Regions from separate parts of the Homo sapiens genome. Here region 1 is linked to region 2. Evidence: promoter capture Hi-C in 16 types of primary human blood cells and fetal thymus (Javierre and others, 2016). All regions are on one chromosome and are shown on one strand. Each heading gives the region's core, a stretch centred on a gene start or on the middle of the fragment in contact. The rest is flanking DNA. Distances are from core to core; before and after follow the strand shown. Region 1 overlaps CRYL1 (crystallin lambda 1). Region 2 holds the start of XPO4 (exportin 4).

Evidence for each region. The method cuts DNA at HindIII sites, captures the fragments that hold promoters and counts their contacts. A CHiCAGO score of 5 or more calls a contact.
Region 1: a contact is called between a fragment that was not itself captured here and the fragment with the promoter of XPO4 in region 2, in 4 of 17 cell types (erythroblasts, megakaryocytes, endothelial precursors and 1 more). The highest score is 10.5, in erythroblasts.

What each region holds. Positions count from the first base shown.
Region 1 is chr13:20,486,445-20,489,806 of GRCh38, forward strand. CRYL1 (crystallin lambda 1) reads right to left here. Exons shown (of 8, transcript NM_015974.3): 3 at 2,926-3,052. Among named protein-coding and RNA genes, the nearest start is that of CRYL1, 38 kb to the right of the region's middle. The HindIII fragment of the contact is 839 bases long and covers 1,694-2,532 here.
Region 2 is chr13:20,901,338-20,904,229 of GRCh38, forward strand. XPO4 (exportin 4) reads right to left here and starts at 1,409. Exons shown (of 23, transcript NM_022459.5): 1 at 1,333-1,409. The coding sequence starts at 1,401. RefSeq lists an enhancer at 1,172-1,221 and a silencer at 1,432-1,811. The HindIII fragment of the contact is 36,571 bases long and covers 1-2,892 here.

The DNA of each region.
Region 1 (3,362 bases), core at 863-3,362, 410 kb before region 2:
TCCCACACAATCCTCCCACCCCCACCCCAAAATCCACTTGTCAAAAGTCAAGACAAGCTCTAATCCTACCTGCATTAAACCTTCCCGAAGCCTCCCGGTCAGAACTATTCCTACCCACTCCTTTCTCTGGTACTGGAGGTACAACAATTTCTGAAGAATATAAACTCTCATAGGAATTAAACCTACTAGTTTACATCATCTTTCTCTAGTTTCCTCTCCTCATCCGGCTTGGCTCTGTGTTCTACATAATAGATATGGCTCAACATGTCATGCCTTGTAAATACACTCATTTAATCTATAAAATAAAGATAGACTGTAGTTAAAGAGCAGTTTTCACTAGTGCCAACCATGTACAGAACGCCATATACTGCCCCATGTCATTCTTTATTACCAAAATTGTTATAAATGGCCACATTATAAAATAATTACCATTTCCTGAGCATTTTCTGTGTGCCAAGTACTATGTAAGTGCTTTACATGCCTTCTAAATTCACATATTCCCCCCAAATTACTCTTTAACAGAAAAACTTGCCTTATTACCCAAGTCTATTATAATGTTCTCATATTATGGAGGGTTCACCACTTTATAAAAAACAATATACTCTTTGAGGGAGACACATTAACCAGAACTAATTCAGTTAGGGTAGTTTTGGATGTTTATAGAAATCATATGATAAACTATCAAAAAAATGGGATGGGGAGACAAAGAAATTTAACATGGATAGATGAATTATTCCTAGGGGATGACTTTACAATTGTTACTGCTAGGAAATTTATAAAGTAGCTATAGAAAGATTCTTTAAAAGAAAAAAAAAAGCACAGCAAGTTGCCATGCTATGGAATCACAAGTGTATTATTACAAAAGGAAAAAACATCTAAATGTTTGAGAATTAGTCTTTGAGGCTGGGGATAAAATTTGCAGTGCCAGCATTGTAGATGGGTTCAAAAAGCTCTGCATAGCAAACATCTCCAAGAGGCAAAGGTAACATGGTCTGGGAACTCTGTTCAGAGAGACTCAAAAAGTGATTGTAATGAAGACAAACATGCTGAAGTTGGAGATATCAGCCCAGAGTTTGAACAAAAGCATTCTGTGAAATGTGAAAGTAGAAATATTATAATAATAGATCACTTATTAATATTTCAATCACATTATATAACTAAATACTTTCCTTAAAAACTAAACTCACGGCTGGGAACAGTGGTTTATGCCTATAATCCAAGCTACTTGGGAGGCTGAGGCTCAAGAATCGCTTGAACCCAGGAGGCGGAGGTTGCAATGAGCCAAGATCACACTACTGAACTCCAGCCTGGGTGACAGAGCGAGACTCTATCTCAAAAAAAAACAAAAAACAAAAAGCAAAAAAAACTTAACTCATGCAGTTTACCGTGGCTCACGCCTGTAATCCCAGCACTTCGAGAGGCCAAGGCCAGCGGATCACTTGAGGTCAGGAGTTTGAGACCAGCCTGGCTAACATGGTGAAACCCTGTCTCTACTAAAACTGCAAAAATTAGCTGGGTGTGGTGGTGCACACTTGTAATCCCAGCCACTCCACAGGCTGAGACAGGAGAATCGCTTGAATCCAGGAAGTGGAGGCTGCAATGAGCCGAGATCACACCACTGCACTCCAGCCTGGGCCAACAGAGTGACTCTGTCTCAAAAAAATAAAAAATAAAACTAAATTCATGTGAAAGAAGCTTCTCTGCCAAGACCAGGCCTGGAGAGCATCTGTGCTCTTCAGAAGCAACTCTGCCAAGACCAGGCCTGGAGAACATCTGTGCTCTTCAGAAGCAACTCCTCTTATAGCACCTGCAACTACGGGTAGAAACAGGTGGCACTGGGAACTCATTAGGAGCCCTCAGGTCTCTTTAAAGTCCCTTCAACTTCATACAAACTTCACCATATCAAGAGATAGAGGATAATATATTAGAAAGAGATAAGAAGTTGAAAAACAGTCCTCTCCTTGTGTTCTGTTGTGACACACATTTGTTTAATGAATTTTTAGCAAATTGAGAATTTAACAATTTTAAGAAATTTTAGAGTCATAGAGACCTAAAATCTCCATCTTCTGTATTTGACCCGAATCTTAGAGCAGGAAATGACCAGAGAACACACACAGCCTTTTCGGTTTGCTTCCAAATTCTCAGCTAGAATATCAACAGAGTAACGACGTGAAATGTGCAAATCTCAGAACACAAAATATCAAGGAAAGATACTGGGAATAATGACTCTTTTAGCTTTAGGTAAATTTGCATAAACCTTATAGCAGTAAGTGCAGCCTTTGAAAAGACAAGGGTATGCCTCAGGATTCTTCAACAGGGCAGGGCCTGTGCGTGGGCACAGGAGCTCCAGGAGCGGGATGCCTGGAAAGAGGGCCAAGCCACAGGGGCTGCTCCCAGCTCCACCTGCAGGGACCACTCACCTCTCCAGGCTCATCCCGCTGTGCAAACAACCCTCATGAGGATTTCTCTTTTTTAAAGTAAAGTTGTTGGAAAGGCTACATGCAAGTGAAAGGTTTTCTTTTTGATGATGTAAGCTTTTGCTCAATTACATATGAGAACAATAATATAATCTGTCATTTGATAAGATGATAAAACAAAATAAAATAGTATTAGCAGTCCAGAAAACCTATTTTTGCTAAAACTGTTAATGCCTCTAAAATACAACATTGTCACCAGAATCCCTAGTGGCCTCACGGATAAGGCATTGGTCTCTTGAAACAGAACATTGTCACGCTAGTTTGATGAGAACCCAGGATAGAGGGTGTTTTGGGGATCACATTTCCTATCACATAAAACAAAATCCTGCCCTTGAAGATGCAAAATGCCCACACCTGCCACTGCTCTGTATCCTGCCCTGTTCCTCCGGAGAGGCTGGGAGACAATGTCTCAGGCCCCACAGATGCGGCGCCAGTGTCCTTCACTCACCTGAATGTGCATGGCACCCTCTACTGCTTCTTGGATATTGGGACAACCACTGATGAGTGACAGCTGCTCTTCCACACTCAGGGAGCCTTTCAGAGAACCTGCCTGCTCCAGCAACTTCATCTCCTTTCTGGAAAGGCAGAGAGAAGGATCACTGTGAGTATTCAACACCACATTTAAAAACAGATAAAGCCCAACATCAGGAATCATCAGGGAAATGCCAAGCAGAACCACAGTGAGATACCACCTCACACCCATTAGGGGCTACCAAAAATAGAAACTAGCAATTGTTGGCAAGGATGTGGAGAAACTGGAACCATTGTGCACTGCTGGTGAGACTGTAAAATGGTGCAACCGCTATGGAAAACAGATATGGCAGTTCCCAAAAACAGAATTACAGTATGATCCAGCAATTCAACTTCTGGGTATAAACCCAAAAT
Region 2 (2,892 bases), core at 159-2,658:
TGATCAGTGTAAGAACTACAGCCGTGTTTTGGGTGGCATACTCCTTCCAGAATCCAATGAAAACGGAGCCCCTAGCTCCTAGGAAAATTTCAGGAATTTTACAAAACGCTCTATGTCAGGGATTTTTAAGAATCTTTTATTAAGGGGAATACTAGCTAGTTACTTCTGCTTAATTTGCAAAAGTGTGAAAACCTTCACTAGTCTGTTTTGTGACAAAACGTACATTAAGTTAATATTCATAATGAAGCAAGTAAATCCTGCTTTTATTAGACTTCTCGATTTCTAAAGAAACAAAAATATCTGGTGTAAAATATTAGAACTACAAACTACGCTAGAATTAGTTCGAATATTCTCAAATGTGATGCTCAAACACCCTAACACCAAACCAAAAGGAAAAAAGTCCAAAAAGGTAACAAAGCTGGCTGTATCCAATTCTTAGAAAGTCTGAATCAATCCAGGTATCAAATGAACCTCTAACTTCCCAAAACATCTACAAACACCGAAGTCATAATTTGCAAAAACAAAGCTGAGCCAGCAAATAGAAACACTGTTTACTAACTGAACGTAGTTTATCCTTACTTCTCCTCCTTGCATGTAATACTTTTATCCTTTGACTCGGCCTTCTCAAATTCCCTTAGTAAACAATCTCATCAAACTGCTTATTGTAGTGTAAGCATGAAGTCAAAGAGTAGCATAGACTCAGTTCTCCAAATCGCGGGAGCTTTAAGGAGCTTAGCACTAGACCAAGTTTTGCCCCAATGACCTTGGTCTCAACGATTCCCCTCCCTCCCTCCAGCCGGCCCGGCCCTTCCACGTGCTGCCGGCTGCAATTACTCCAGAGGTGGCTGCATGTCAGGGAAGCGCTAGAGGATGCGAATGCACAGGAAACAAGGGTTGCTAACAGCACCCAGGCTGTGCCATCCAATCCCTCCCGACACCAACTCCCCAAGAGCGCTCACACAGCCCTACAAATTTCCCCTACCGAAGCCCTGCGGGGATAACCCCAACTCCTTCCCGGCGCCTTGCTCTGCGACCCAGTCTGTGGGGCAGGGTGTAAGGTGAAGAAATTCTCTTTGCTACACCACTATATTCCCACGCCCGACTGGGGTGCTGGGCAGCCAGGGGAAGGGGACAGCTCCTGGAAGGAGGGGACGACGGCAGGAGGAAAGTAGGCTGAAGAATCCTGCGCCACGCCACCGCCACCTCCTCCTCCACTTCCAGGCTCCCTGCAGGCCCTTGCCAGTCGCCAGCCCAGCGAGCAGCAAGGCCTGGAGTGGCAGGGCCGACCGGGGGCCCGCGAATCCCGGGGTCTGAGGGGCGCGGCGTCCTCACCATCAGAACTTTAGCCGCGTTCTCCAGCTGAGCGATCACTTCTGGGGGCCCCAGCGCCGCCGCCATCATGGTCTCTCTTCAATGACGCGCCATGCGCTGCATTCTGGGAGCGGGCGCCGCGGCCGGCCAATCGCCGCCGCGACCCCGGAGCCTCACGCGCTCCCAGGGCCGTCGCAGCCGCTGTCGACACCGGCGTCGCGGCCTCGGCGGGTCTGGCCGGGCTGCCGGGTTCCGGGTGGCTGGGAGGGGACTAGTGTGAGCCCGGCCGCCGCGCTGGGGCGGGGGCGGCCGCAGCCGGCACCGGGCGAGGCCGAGGCGGTCTGCCCAGACTGCTGCAGCCGCGCGCCCCGCTAAGCTCCCAGCCCCGCGCATGCGTGGTGTCCGGCGCCCCGGCCTCGCGGTGCCCCCGGCCCTCTCCCCACTACCCTAGTACAGCCCGCCCGGGGACCCGCAGATCCACGACGCCAGTTCGCTCCCTCCGTTCTCAGCCCTGCACACCGCCTCCCCTGGCTCCTCCTTGCCCTTCCACGCTCCAGCGCCGTGCAGGATTTCCTAAACTTGGAATCGCTCTTCCCGCTTTCCCCTCCTCAGAGCGCACCTCCTTTCAAAGTATCTCTGTCTCCTGCTTCTCTGTTCCTTCTTGCCATGGGAGAACATTCCAGGATAGAACGCTTCGTTTTCTTTCTTTCTTTTTTTTTTTTTTTGGAGACAGGGTCTCACTCTATCGCCCAGGATGGAGTGCAATGGCCCTATTTCGGCTCACTGCAACCTCCGTCTCCCGGGTTCAAGCGATTCCCCTGCCTCAGCCTCCTGAGTATCTGGGATTACAGGCGCCCGCCACCACGCCCGGCTAATTTTTGTACTTTTAGTAGAGACGAAGTTTCACCATGTTGGCCAGGCTGGTCTCGAACTCCTGACCTCAGGTGATCCGCCCGCCTCGGTCTCCCAAAGTTCTGGGATTACAGGCGTGAGCCACCGCCCCCGGCCGAACGCTTCGTTTTCATAATGGAGGGCTTTGGCCTTCTGCAGGACAATCATCCAAATGTATCTGGGCAGCGGGTCGCTAGGAGACCCTAGGAGGAAAACCCGTCTTTGGCTCTTGCCGTTTTCACTCTTTAAGGGCTGGCTCACATAGGAGAGGGAGAAAGCAGGGACAGGAAAGCCTGACCTTGACTACCTGGCTTCTCAAATGCAGTAAGATGAGCTTTGTCGGCCAGGCGCTGTGGCTCATGCCTGTAATCCCAGCACTTTGGGAGGCCAAGGCAGGCCTCATTTTAGCTCAGGAGTTCGAGACCAGCCTGGGCAACATCGTGAGACCCTGTCTCTACCAAAAAAAAAAAAAAAAAAAGCCCGGTGTGGTGTCTTGCGCCTGTGGTCCGAGCTTCTCGGGAGGCTGAAGCGGAAGGATTGCCCAGGAGGTCGAGAGTGCAGTGGGGCGAGATCACACCACGGCACTCCAGCCTGGGTGAGAGGCTGATCCTGTCTCAGGAAAAAAAAAAAAAAGGACAAAAATCAGCATTGTCGTGTTTGTGGAATCCGTGTTGAAAGGCATATTAGAGT